2 separate regions of the Homo sapiens genome follow, and region 2 is linked to region 1. Evidence: promoter capture Hi-C in human tissues and cell types (Jung and others, 2019). All regions are on one chromosome and are shown on one strand. The core of a region is centred on a gene start or on the middle of the fragment in contact, and the rest is flanking DNA. Distances in the headings are between cores, read along the strand shown. Region 1 holds the start of THAP9 (THAP domain containing 9). Region 2 overlaps LOC124900167 (a long non-coding RNA gene).

The links. The method cuts DNA at HindIII sites, captures the fragments that hold promoters and counts their contacts. A contact is called where the count stands out against the background at its distance.
Region 2: a fragment that was not itself captured here is called in contact with the fragment with the promoter of THAP9 in region 1 in 1 of the 25 tissues and cell types used here (hippocampus).

What each region holds. Positions count from the first base shown.
Region 1 is chr4:82,894,911-82,901,984 of GRCh38, forward strand. THAP9 (THAP domain containing 9) reads left to right here and starts at 5,825. Exons shown (of 5, transcript NM_024672.6): 1 at 5,825-5,972. The coding sequence starts at 5,893. THAP9-AS1 (THAP9 antisense RNA 1) reads right to left here and starts at 6,006. Exons shown (of 4, transcript NR_034077.1): 1 at 5,424-6,006; 2 at 5,167-5,313; 3 at 782-864. It overlaps SNORD143 (small nucleolar RNA, C/D box 143), which reads right to left and starts at 1,018; the gene lies at 943-1,018. SNORD144 (small nucleolar RNA, C/D box 144) reads right to left here and starts at 3,315; the gene lies at 3,230-3,315. It also overlaps a transcript of SEC31A not described here. RefSeq lists enhancers at 5,270-5,789, 5,405-5,524, 5,790-6,309 and a silencer at 5,835-6,184. The HindIII fragment of the contact is 5,539 bases long and covers 2,292-7,074 here.
Region 2 is chr4:83,174,608-83,182,031 of GRCh38, forward strand. All of the region lies in intron 4 of LOC124900167 (a long non-coding RNA gene), which reads right to left. Among named protein-coding and RNA genes, the nearest start is that of PLAC8, 64 kb to the left of the region's middle. RefSeq lists enhancers at 281-330, 6,498-7,073. The HindIII fragment of the contact is 8,357 bases long and covers 1,411-7,424 here.

The sequences.
Region 1 (7,074 bases), core at 4,575-7,074:
TGCATAGTTTTTTCATGATATGCATTTTCCATGCACTTTTTCAAGACCCCTCATATTTTCTTAAATTTGAGAAACAACTACAATAACAAGCCTAATTCATGACAGAACTAGTATTAGATTTAAGATTCCCAGTTTCCTATCACCTTCTTTTCTACTGTTCCTGAACAGATCCTTAAGTTATAGGCTAGTCATCCTTGGCATATCTAACAGTCATTTGTAAACCCTGGATCTTTAAGAATATCAGGTGCTGAAAAGATTATATCATTATTTCTAAGAAAAGATAACCAACAGCCAGGTGTGGTGGCTTATGACTATAATCCCAGCACTTTGGGAGGCTGAGGTTGGTGGCTGGAAGTTTGAGACCAGTCTGGCCAACATGGCAAAACATGGTCTCTACTTAATAAAAAAAATTAGCTGGGTGTGGTGGCATGCGCCTCTAATCCCAGCCACTTGGGAAGCTGGGCCACAATAACTATTTGAACCCAGGAGGCAGAGATTGCAGTGAGCAGAGATTGCGCCGCTGCACTCCAGCCTGGGCAACAGAGTGAGACTGTCAAAGTTAAAAGCTCCACCCCCTCCAATGCCTTTCCTGAATTGAATCTATTAATTAAAAAAATACTATTTTGAAATAATACTTATCTTTAAAAGCTGGAAGAGTAAGGAAAAGAAATTTTTAATTCAGAGTACAGTATCCACATTAGGCTGAAATAAATGTCAATTTTCTGCTCATACCTGACCTTTTCTGTGTTCTTTTATCAAAATAAATGTGTAAGTCCCATACCTTATTATATAAATCTTCAACTTCTTGATCAAATAAATATGACAAATGATGTTCTCTAAGAAAAACACCCTTCAATTTTATTCCTAAAACGAAAAACATTCAAAGGAACTCATTGTGCAGAAACACAATATATACAAGTCTCATCATTTTCTTTTTCTATTATGTCCTCATCCACATACATTAATCACAACAAATCATGATGTGAACAGCAGTGGAAAAAATTTAATCATTGGACATTTATTTCTTGAACTTCAGCTCTAGTTGTAAGATTCTCATTGCTTAGCTCTTTAAAACAAATGCATATATTTATCTAATGTAGAACAGTTAAGACCTCCAATTTTACTATAATTGGGAAAAAAACTCAGAACAAAGATTATGTCAAGTGTATCACTGTATTGACTTTGTTAACCTGCTATACATCTGACACAAGGGTAGGTGTTCAACAAGTGAAATACCAATCCTAAAAAGCCAGAAGTCTGTATCTGCTTTCATAGGGTTATTATGAGAAATAAATATTGTTTAACAGAACCAACTCTTTCTTTTTTGAGACAGAGTCTTGCTCTGTCACCCAGGCTGGAGTGCAGTGGCCAATCTTGGCCCACTGCAACCTCCACCTCCTGGGTTCAAGTGGTTCTCCTGCCTTGGCCTCCCAAGTAGCTGGGGTTACAGGTGCGTGCCACCATGCCCGGCTAATTTTTGTATTTTTAGTAGAGACGGAGTTTCGCCATGTTGGCCAGGCTGGTCTTGAACTCCTGAGCTCAGGTGATTCACCTGCCTTAGCCTTTCAAAGTGCTGGGATTACAGGTGCGAGCCACCATGCCTGGCCAAGAAAACCAACTCTTTCTATACACTATATATAAAAATCTTAGCAGCCTGGGCAACACGGCAAAACCCCTTCTCTACCAAAAATACAAAAAATTAGCCAGGTGTGGTGGCACACGCCTGCAGTTCCAGCTACTTAGAGAAGCTAATTGGAACTAGAGTATGGCTAGAAATTAGGTATTCCTACTCATATAATTTTCCTTGGGGTGATACTAACTTGGAAAGTTGAACTTTCTAAGAATTTTTCAAGGAATATTGTCCAATTTCTTCTGTGCAGTTATACAAATATTTGCTATAGGATGGAGTAAAGGTACAGATGTACAGCATCATTGAAGGAGTTTGACCTTTTTCCCCAAAGCTTGATTTTTATCCACTATGATGAATACATTTTACTAAATACTTGCTACTCTTTTCCTTCTGCTGCTTCCACCCCCACCTCCCACAGGCTTCTACTCCTCATCAGCAAAATATAGACCTTGTCAAGCAATCAGAATGTTCCTAATTGGCAGAACACTAATTCGTGCCTGAGATTTATAATCTTTTGAGTCTTCTTGTTTTCCTTTCATCACTGCTCAAAAGTTCTATTAGAAGAAAAAACACTCCCCCTTTTCCTTTAAGTCCTAGCACTGCTTCTGATATTTGGAAACCACTTGTCTAATAACAGAAGCATTACGTATAAAACAAAGCATAACTAGTTTTGGAGCGTATTAGGGTGTAGCTGCCCCTCCATATCAGGCTTGATGCTGAGAAGACACTTCCAAGTTAGCATGAGATTCTAGAAGTAGAAATAATTATGTAACAAATAATGATATAACAATAATTTCAAAACTCCATGGCTTTCTGAAACAAAAGACAGAACTCAAACAATGAAAAATTCGGCAACACAAAAGGGTAGGTCCTCAACAAGCAAGATACCAACCCTAGAAAGCAAGAAGTCTATACCTGCTTTCATAGAGTTATTATGAGAAATAAATATTGTTTAAGAAAACCAACTCTTTCTATATACTGTATATAAAAAGCTTAGCAGCCTGGGCAACATGGTAAAACCCTGTCTCTACCAAATATACAAAAAAAAATTAGCCAGGTGTAGTGGTACATGCATGTGGTCCCAGCTACTTAGGAAGCTGAGGTGGGAAGATTGCTTGGGCCTGGAAGACAGAGGTTGCAATAAGCTGAGATTGCGCCACTGCACTCCAGCCTGGGTGACAGAGTGAGACCCCATCTCAAAAAATAAAATAAAATGAAATGAAATTAAAAAAAGCTCAGCATAATTTGTGGCCCATAGTAACTGGCCAATAAATAAATATCTGTTATTATTCTTTCCAAGTGGACAATTAATGAGATTATATACCATAAAATAGGTAGATTTCATTAAAGCCTTAATAAATGTTTTTTACTTGGACAATCCTCCATTTCCAACTCACTGCTATAGTTCCAGGAATACTTAATACATTTAAAATAGAAAGATATACTACCTTCCCTGCATATTTTGAGTAATTATCTTCCAAGACCCATGTATCTTTTCTCAACATCTCTGAGAGTACAATTCCTGAAAAGAGATATTTTCTTTTAAAATTTTTTGTGCAATAGTCAATGCCTTTGCAAATAACACTATCTTTAATACAGCTTACATATCCTCATTTAAGTATTCAATAATCACAACGGTTCATTATGTGAACAGCAGTGAAAAGGTTTAATCACTGGATATGAAGTTACTAGAAGAAGCAATGATATAACCAAATGATCAGATTGAGAACTTCCATGTCAACAGTAAAATAATCACAACAACAAAAAAAGTATAGATAAGTTATAAACAAATGTAAAGATACAAAAATACAACTAAGAAAAAAAAATTCCATCTATAAAGGATTACTTATTTCCTATGCAGAAGTAAATATCTAGAGCAGTGACCCCTTGCGGCTATTGCCTTCATTTAAGTAAATCTGTTCTGATAAAAGCAGTTTTCAGAAATTCATCTGAAATTAACAATTAAAGGAATGTTGTCAGAATAATGTAGGAAGCACACTATTTCATCTTTAGGAAAGGCAAATAGTTGCAATCCAATTAAACAGGAAAGAAAACAGCCCTCATTTCAGATGATGAACTGGCAGCAGTACTTTCAACTCTACCTTAAGAAAATGGCAAGTGAATGCCTGTATCTGCAAACTTTTGAGTCCTTAAGAAAAGGCAAACACCACGATGAGACAGCCACTTCACATGCACAAAAATGTGGAGAAACTGGCAGCCTCATCCACTGCTGGTGGGAATGTAAAATGGTGCAGCCACTAGGGAAAATAATCTGGCACTTCCTCAAGAAGCTAAACACAGTTATCTTATGACTCACCAATTCCACTCTTAGGTGTGTAATCAGGAAAATGAAAACATTTGTCCACACAAAAACTTGTACACAAATGTTCATAATAGTAAAAAAAAAAATTGGAAAACCCAAATGTCCACCAACTGTTGAACGGATAAACAAAATCTGCTACATCCATAAAATGGAGTACGATTCAGCAATAAAAAATAAAGTACTGATACGTGCTATAAGATGGATGAACTCTGAAAACATTCCAAGTGAAAGAAGCCAGTCACAAAGACCATATATTAGTTCATAATTCCACTTACATGAAGTGTACAGAGCAGGCAGAGGCACACGGAAACTAAATTAGTGTTTGCTGAGCGGGGTGGGGGAATATTTGGAGGTGCTGCTAGTAAGAATGAGGTTTCTTTCTGGAGTGATGAAAATGTTCTAATATTGATTGTGACTGTTCCACAATTCTGTGCATATACTAAAACCCACTGAATTGTACACTTTAAACCAATTAGTTGTGTGGTATGAGAATTATATCTGAGTAAAACTGTTACAAAAATATAAGGCAACTAATTTTTTCCTTAAAGATAGCTAAAAACAATGTTATTTTTATTCAGCCTCACTCGGGTCTTAATTGGTTGAGCAGGAAAAGGCTCTAACAGCCCAACCAACTTACAGTATTTAAATCCAGTTCTTACTCTCTGCACACACCTTACAGCCAAAAAGTATTTGCCCTGCACATCCCCCAGGGACCAATTTTTCCAAAGTTCCTTGACCATCTATCCTTAGGCCATGTGACTTTTAAGGAACCATAACCAAAAGCTATTAATTCCATTCAGAGAAGATACAAGCATATTATAATGGAAAACTGGTGTGAATAAGTAATACCTTAATATGTATCTTCGGCTGTAATCTGGACAAAGTAAACACAAAGGGGAAAAAGAAGCAATCTTGTTAGGCCTGGATATTTGGAATTATTTTTGTGTGCTATACAAAGAAACGGAAAAGTTGCAAACCCTTCTCTGTTTTCTGTATGCTAAGGATCTCCTTCTCAGAGACAAAAACCCACTGGCCCGTTTCCTTCTCTAAGCAAATTGAAATCTCTTCCTCAAACATAAGAGCTTATAACTAAGACATTGTTCTAAGCTCTATCTCCTGAAAGCTATTCATAATGCCTCATTCCCAACCAAAACCACTTAATTGCCCCTTGTCCCCTGCCCCTATTACTACTGAGGAGCCCCAAGAACCTTACCTTATTTCCTTCATTGTGGCAAAGTGTTTCAGAAAAGGGTTCCTTGAATTAAAAGTCGGCGTATCCTATTTGACTCCTGCTCCTCCGGTATCACATACCTACAGCCAACCATGCCAAGAGCTTCCCCATTATCTCCGCATCGGAGAGCTACAAGATAAAGCGCAAGAACACGACACGCATCTCAGTAAATCATATATTTTTGGCCCGACTCTGTCTTCAACACACCTAAGGCACCGTGTTTTATCCCTCTTCCATACCCTTTCCTCCCGATATCCTCCAGTTTCAGAGACCGCACCCGGAGACCCATTGGCAGGTTCCTGGATTCGCCTCAATTTTGGTCCTGCCTCTCTGCTTCGCATTTTCAGGCTTGGCCTCACAAGAAGGACGATGGCGCCAGATTGTGCCAGAATGGGTGAAAACAGAAGGAAAATAAACCGGTTGCAGCAAAACCCACTATTCCGCCTCCAACGCGGAGGGAGGAGCGGTCAAATGCACGTCTTCAGGCTCAGGCCCTTCCGATTGGCTGCTGGGACACAACGTGGCCTGTCATTGGCTACGGCACCGGCGCAGGGCCTTCGGAGAGGAAGTGTGGAAGTCCCGCGCCTCTAAAGCCCGCCTTTCGTGACAAATAAAGGTCGTAGCCGCAGAGTCAACGGGCGGAGCTAAAGTGGTCGTGATTCATGCTGTCGCGGGAACCCCGAAGGTGGGGCCCCACGTAACAAGAAGATGACCCGAAGTTGCTCCGCAGTGGGCTGCAGCACCCGTGACACCGTGCTCAGCCGGGAGCGCGGCCTCTCCTTCCACCAGTGCGTATGGGAGCAGCCTCGAAGCCTTCGAACTCCCTGCGGGGCCCGGCGGGCCGTGGCGTGGCGTGGGGCGGGGCCGGGCCGCACTGTGGGTCGCGCCGCGTGTGTGACGCGACGTGACGTGCGCAGCGTCGGGGCGTGGGAGCGGAATTGGGGCACTGTGAGAATTGAGATTCTCTCTCTTCCCGCCCAGTGTTTACCTCTGAATAGCCGGTTCTCGCACCGCCTACCGCTTTAAGGAGAGTTACGCGAAAGGAGTCCTCCATTAATTGGATGGTCTTATTATTTGAAGTGAGGAGGCCGAAAGGGAAGGCAGTTTAGGACAACGGTTGAAGTGTGTGTGTGGCGTCTTCCTGAGCACGAGTACAGATCAGTTTTCTCCTGTACTGCCTGACATTGCAAGTTCTTAAGTGCTGTTAGCCGAGCTGTGCAAGGCCGGTCCGATTCTGGCTGGATTTGATCATGGCAGGGAAGTTTCATTTGGCTCGACAGTGGGGAAGAATTTCAGATCAGTCTTATCTGAACTCATATCCATGGTTCAGACTGGTATAGGTCATTCAGTATTCAGGGTACACTAGCAAGTAGAAAAGTGGGTAAAATAGATCCTCACAGACAAAAGGAGCAGATTTATGGAAAGATCAAAAAGAACTTTATGGTTGGAAAGGGGGGGTAGGAAGAGGGTAGTTAGGAATGGCATGGGAAAATGTAAAGGATAGAAAGTGCAAATATAGAGGAGTGGAAAAGTACCTGAGAAACCATTTTAAAAATGTAAATGCCAGGTTAAGGAGTTTAGAGTATGTATGGTAGGCTATGTATAAAATTCATTGATTTTTTTTTTTTTTTGTTTTCTATTTTTTAAATAGGGCTGATTCCTCCACCTAAATTGTTAGCAGTGTGAACCAACTCATTGTGTATGTGAGACCATAATTGATTTGGGATTTTTCTTGTGATAGAGGTAGTTTTAAACTAGGGAGACATGAATTCCAATTTTAATTGAGTATTTACTGATGTCTGTACTTGGCTCTGGGTCTTGGTTTCTTCTTCTGTAAGAGGAATAAAAACCTGCCTTGTAGAATTTTGTAAAACTAAAACGTAAGACTTT
Region 2 (7,424 bases), core at 4,339-6,838, 280 kb after region 1:
CTGGTGTCAGGCATACATGGTTCTAGAGGAAGACTGCCCTTTCACACCCAGACCCTCTATGCGTGCCCTCTGAAGCTCTTCACAATGTGACCTACCCTATTTCTTCAGTCCTTTTGATTTCTACTTCCATAAGTTATCCCATCACTACTCAGCAAGCAGCCCCTCTATATCTATTCCTGCTGTCAGTTACCGTCTCCTGTCTTCCTCTTTACCTGTTAACATCCCATCCCTAGTGCCCATCCACCAGGAAGCCATTTCTAACCTTCCATGTTGGATTTGCCTTTCCCTCCTCTGAACTTGCAAACCCCTTTCCAGATGTGGTGGAGAACCCTCTGGTCTGGCGCTCAGGACACTAGGATATCATTACAGCACTGATACTTGGCTCCCTCTGTGCTTTTTCTCTAAATGACAATGATACTATTTTCACTTCCTCCTTCCCACGGTTATTAAAAATATACAGGAATCTATACTAATAGCAGACATGAGATTTATATACGTGTATTCTGAGCATGTACACCTTTTCTTTTGACTTATTTGTAGGTTTTTTTTGAGGACAGGTAACTGGACCTCAGTCATCTTTGTGTCCCCCAAAGATAATGGCCTACACATAGCCTAGAAAATAGTAGGTGCTCAATACAATTGTATTTATTTATACCAGTGGTTTTCAACCATGGGTGATTTGCACCTCCCATCCGCCCTGCCCCACCCAACCACCACCTGCCTGAGACATATGGCAATGTCTAGTAACAGTTTTAGTTTCTACAATTCAGGGAGATGGCAGAGAATTGCTACTGGCATCTAGTGGGTAGAGGCCAGGGAAGCCGCTAAGCATCCTACAATGCACAGGACAGGCCCTGCCTTCCCTAACTTTCAACAAGAAGTTATTCGGCCCAATGGTGGCAAGGCTGAGAAACTCTGATTTATACCCTTGATCTTAAGGAGATTTGAGCCATTTACAAACTCACATATGCAATAAGATACCAAATGCAAAATGAAGAAATCAGGCACAGGAAAAATAAAGCCTAGAGCAGCTTTAGTGCGTGCTTTAAGGTTCCTATACAATGCTAGACATCACTGCACATTAGACCCTGAGCTTCTGATCAGGCAAAGCAAAGAGGGAACACAAATATTTAGGAGATTGGCCATGTCCATAAAAGACAAACAAATTAAAACCTAGAGAAATTTCTCGTCAAAATGGAGGTGATGCATGAAAAAGAGTGATCTAAGCCTTTAACAGTAGTTCTATAATAACTAGAACAGACATTTCCTAATGTAGGCTTAAAGAGTATGGAGGGATTACAGTATGAGCACTGAAAGTAACGTATGAGAAGCTAAAATGATCCCATCCAAGTACTTATCTGTCTGATAATCTGAGATAATTCAAGATTAAAAATCAGATTTTTAAAGACTTTTTTGATACAGAGTCTTGCTCTGTGATCCAGGCTGGAGTGCAGTGGTGCCATCTCAGCTCACTGCAAACTCCACCTCCTGGGTTCAAGCAATTCTCGTGCCTCAGCCTCCCGAGTGGCTGGAATTACAGGCGTGTGCCACCATGCCTGGCTAATTTTTGTATTTTTAGTAGAGAATGGATTTCACTATGTTGGCCAGGCTGCTCTCCAACAGCTGGCCTCAAATGATCCGCCTGCCTCGGCCTCCCAAAGTGCTGGGATTACAGGTGTGAGCCACAGAACTTGGCCTAAAGATTGTTTAGAGGAGTACAAGGGGGCATGTTCCTTGATAATTCTTCATAAATAGCATTTTTGCCAGCTATTTATGAGGTTTAGTAAGAACTGGGCAGTGGTGAGACTGAGTTAAAAGTCTGGCAAGACCTTGAGTTCAGATTCCCAGCTCAAGCTGCTTATCCATGAGAAGAGGTATGCAGATGGAAAGGTATATAACGTATTGCATTGTTATAAAAATTAAGGAATGGAGTGGGGACACACAGCTGAATAGAAGACCACCCTAGTGTAGCATGGAAGTGAGCTTAAGTCATCTACCTACAGGAAAGTTTGTTTCCCTCAGAAACCACCTCTGGGGCTGCTTCAGCAAGTGACCACATGGCTGATAAAAGTCCCCAAGTTCTGTACCATAGAGCCTGGAAAACTTTTGTAGTAGGTATTACCACCTTCTCCCATGGTAATAAAAGAATGTAACAATACACCTACAGAGTCAAATTTTAAGTACAGAAAGTCCCTCAACTTATATGGGGTGATGTCCAGATAAACTTATTATAAGTAAACAAAATTATTAAGTTGAAAATGCATTTAGTTCAGATAAATTCATCATGAAGTTGGAAAATTGTAAGTGGAATTATTGTAAGTTAGGGACTGTCTGTAATGTAACTTCCTAGTCAATGCTGTAAAGATAAAAGAATTGCAATATGGAACCTTAGATATTATAATAAGTTGATCTTCTAAAAATACTAATTGGCCCTATTCTGCTTCTGAACCATTTGATCTGGTTGTAGAGATTGAGTGAGTGATCTGGAATTGGTATTTTTAAGGCTTCCCAGGTAATTACAAAGTGCAGCCAGGGTTGAGAATCACCACATTAAAGGAAATGATGATTTTTGAGTATTGAATTAGTCCAACTTGAGTCTTTTATACAATAATAAAATACATTTCCTCTCAACTTCAAACTTCATGTACCACTTAAATTTTCTCCCCAAACACGTATAATTTAAAAAAATTAAGCCAAGGGGAACACTCATTCTATGGCATAGAATGAGGTGTTGCTTGGTTCTAAAAATGAATGAATGAATGAATGAATGAATGAATAATATGCTCAATGAAGAAAATCTGAGAATTACCAAAATATCAAAACAAAAAACCTCTAGCAATTCCACCATACAAAGCTTAACTACTTGTGACATTTTCAATGTATGTCTTTCCATTTAATCCATTAAAACAGTAATTAGTGTGTAGGACCAGTTTTTAATGAGGATATTCCCAATTGAGGCAATAAAACCATTTCTCCTGCAATGTGGAGAAGGCTGCTTTCCTTTCTGTTTGTTTTACATGGAGAGCAAGCATTCATCTCTTTTAAAACTGGTATCCAATTATGCTGTAGCTCAGAATTACCTAATTAGTTGAGATGCCCCCACCATGACTCTTGAGTTTGTGTGACAGGGTAGAGTCTGTCTAAGAAAGTCAAGAGTTTGAGTTCATCCCAAGGGCTGAAATACTATTGGTTTAATGAATGAATCTTTGAGTTACCTTAAAAGTCCCAATTTATATGCAGATATCCTAAAAGCCCTCGACTAAAAGTAGGTTTCTTACCTAGGCAATGACTTACTTCCCCAGACTCACGTTTTGCCTTTATTCTGTTTCTTCACATCTTTCTTGGAACTATTTGTCTCCAATAGGAGCTAAACAGAGAGGAATCCCAAAAGGAGAAGAGGGTACCCACCAGCCCCCAGAATTGCAGAGGGCTCAGCTCTAACCATGCTTAGCATGTCTGGTATCTGGCCATGTTCAGAGAATAGTCCTTTAGATGTCTCACATTTAACATCTTGGCTAAAAGAGCCAGAACACCTGTAAAGTGCAGCACTGTATTTTAAATCTCGCTGTGACTCAAATGTGAATTGGAATTGCCTGTTCTTCAAATAATGTGGGCTGAAGATCACTTAGCTGGTGAGAATCCAGCTAACAGCTGCATTCACTTTGGTACAAAATGACTCAAAGGGACTTGGTTGGCCAGGCACAGTGGCTCACACCTGTAATCCCAGCAATTTGGGAGGCCGGGGTGGGAGGATTGCTTGAGCCAAGGATGTTCAAGACCAGCCTGGGCAAGATGGCAAGATCTCATCTCTAAATAAATAAATAAATAAATAATTTTTTAAAAAGGGACTTGGTCAATTTTTTTTCTTTTCTTTTTTTTTTTTTTTTTTTTTGAGATGGAGTCTCACTCTGTCCCCCAGGCTGGAGTGCAGTGGCACAATCTTGGCTTACTGCAAACTCTGCCTTCCAGGTTCATGCCATTCTCCTGCCTCAGCCTCCCGAGTGGCTGGGACTACAGGCGCCCGCCACCACGCCCGGCTAATTTTTTGTATTTTCAGTAGAAACGGGGTTTCACCGTGTTAGCCAGGATGGTCTCGATCTCCTGACCTCGTGATCTGCCCGCCTTGGCCTCCCAAAGTGCTGGGATTACAGGCGTGAGCCACCGCGCCCTGCCTTTTGTTTCTTTTTTTAACTTTTTCAGTGAAAAGTCAACTTTGTTAAATTATTTTAAATTTTGTTTTGCTGTAGATAGGGGAAAGGGTTCCTTTCAAAATGCCAACAACTTGTACTAGGGATGGAAGTCAAGAGAGCTAAGATAGCCTCAGCCATAAAACTGGTGGTAAAAATTTACAGAATGTTGAATTTGGGTGGTGTTTATAATCTATAACTCTAACAAGTCCCAATCTAATATTTTATAAGAAGACTACAAAACTGTTCAGTGAGTGCTCTAGCCAGTATAAATGGATCTCAAAACTTCAATAAACATGCAATTATCTTGTGGCTGTGAAACAGATGTTGATAAATTTCCTTTAGGAAAAGGGCAGCATCCTAGGCAAACACTTGATTATGAAATATTTCTTTTTCCCAAAAGCCTCCAGATGCATTCTTCCCAAACATGGTGTATATTTGGGAAGAGACAGCCATTAAGTGTCTTTGTCTCTGACTTCATTGCCCCACATTTGTCTCTGTCTTCACTCCCCCAAGGAAAACCTGTGTGTTTCCACACAGTGTTACATGCTAACTGCTCAATACAACTGATGGCCACTTCTCAAGTGTCTGCCCAGTCCTCAGGGATTCCTCTGAGTTTTATGAATACCTTCAAGTGCTCTTAGCGTTGTTCTTAGGGGTTAGGTTGTTCTTAGGGTTGGATTTCCCAGGTAACGGAAGCACAGCCTTAGGACACTCAAAAAGCTAGGGCAATAAAATAAAATAAAAATGTGGAAAAATATGTAGCTCCTCCCTCCTCAAGTAAATGTCATCTTTAAGGAAAGTAATCACAATTATATTGGACTTCTTTACACTTATTTACTTATTTACATATGGAAAGTTATAGATGGGTAGCACATCACACAGTGTTCAGTGTGTTTAAGGCTTCTAAAGACATTTGCCTGGTCCTAGTTTTATCTATCTATCTATCTATCTATATCTATATATAGATATATAGATATAGATATAGATATAGATATTTTTTTTTTTGAGATGGAGTCTCGCTCTGTCGCCCAGGCTGGAGTGCAGTGGCACGATCTCGGCTCACTGCAAGCTCTGCCTCCCAGGTTCACGCCATTCTCCTGCCTCAGCCTCCCGAGTAGCTAGGACTACAGGCACCCGCCACCACACCTGGCTAATTTTTTGTATTTTTAATAGGAATGGGGTTTCATCGTGTTAGCCAGGATGTTCTCAATCTCCTGATCTCATGATCTGCCTGCCTCGGCCTCCCAAAGCGCTGGGATTACAGGCGTGAGCCACCGCGCCTGGCTGGTCCTGGTTATATTTTAAGGTCAGTTGTTTTCAGGTCTCTTCCCACTACCCGAGTCTGAGCTACACAGGTACTGGCCAGTCATCTTTTAATCCTACCACAGCACCTGGAGCACAGTAGATGCTCAATGAGCAATTTTTTTTTAAATAAGTGAATGAACAAATGTTTGAAGACAGAACTGTGTGTCTCATGTACACAATTTAGGGGTCTCTATTTTAGACATCTAGACATCAGAAATATTACCTCCGAACCCTGTCCACTTCCCCTAATCAACTATCTTTAAGTGATGTGTTTGCCTTAAAGACTAGGAAGAGGGAGGAAAAAAAGAAGCTTCCCTTTTCCCCTTTTCTTAAATCATGCAAATGAGAAAGGCTAATCCTTCCCTCTAGAGTGAAAATACTGAAAGCTACTTTGGTAATTGTTAGGGACAAGCTACCCCAGGAATCCCCCCAACTTCCCCTTACCCTGAATACTCTGCAGCTGCCTTCCTAAACACTTATCTGGGTGCCACAGCAAAGTTACCAGACATGCTAAGTGGAGCAAACCCTAATTACAGCCATTTGGGCAGCACCGGGGAAGTCGTGGGAAATGTGAACAAACCTTAGTTACACATTCTTGTAAATTCCTGTTTTTCATCTAACTGCCACCTTAAAAGTCAGGGAATGACGTGTTATAAGTCTATTACAAGCTGATGAACTACCTTTGTGCCTGTTACAAGCTAATAGATACTCTTAGCGGTAAAGATAACCGACAAACAACCCCAGGATGCGGTTATACCCAGAAACTCCCTTAAGCCCCTCCGACCCCATATAAACTCCTCATTCTGTGAGTTCAGGGCTGCCTCCTTTGACTGTTAAGGAGCAGCCCAGCAGGTTAATAAACTTGCTTGACTTAGGTCTACTCATCCTTTCTCTCGGCTAGCCTTACAGTAATATTGCCAGTAATAAGAAGGCTACAAATCAGCTAAGAAAACAAGTGGTCAGATGGTAATGATTTCAAAATTGTGTTTGTTATATAAAAACATATATAGAATTAACTTCTGACAACAAAATGGTAATAAACTTCAAAATGACTGAAACAGAAATTATGCCTCCTCCCAGCAAAACTGATGCCAGTAGCAAATCTTGAAACGAATTACAAAATAAGTTTACAAAATAAACTTTCTAGAGGGAATTTGTAATATTCTGTTTAAATACACCACTCTTACTGGTGATACAATGATTTCTTCTTTAATGATTAAAAAAATTGTCTCTTAGGGAAAAAAATGGATCTTGTAACAGCACTTTTTAAAAAGTCACGATACTCACAGGCTCTTAAGAATCACTACTGCCAAAAAAAAAAAAATCTGAATTCCTGCTCTGCCTCTGCCTCTCCCCTCTCCCCTCTCCCCTCTCCCTCTCGGTCTCCCTCTCCCTCTCTTTCCATGGTCTCCCTCTGATGCCGAGCCGAAGCTGGACTGTACTGCTGCCATCTCGGCTCACTGCAACCTCCCTGCCTGATTCTCCTGCCTCAGCCGGCCGAGTGCCTGCGATTGCAGGCGCGCGCCACCACGCCTGACTGGTTTTCGTACTTTTTTGGTGGAGACGGGGTTTCGCTGTGTTGGCCGGGCTGGTCTCCAGCTCCTAACCGCGAGTGATCCGCCAGCCTTGGCCTCCCGAGGTGCCGGGATTGCAGACGGAGTCTGGTTCACTCAGTGCTCAATGGTGCCCAGGCTGGAGTGCAGTGGTGTGATCTCAGCTCGCTACAACCTCCATCTCCCAGCCGCCTGCCTTGGCCTCCCAAAGTGCCGAGATTGCAGCCTCTGCCCGGCCACCACCCCGTCTGGGAAGTGAGGAGCGTCTCTGCCTGGCCGCCCATCGTCTGGGACGTGAGGAGCCCCTCTGCCTGGCTGCCCAGTCTAGAAAGTGAGGAGCGTCTCTGCCCGGCCGCCATCCCATCTAGGAAGTGAG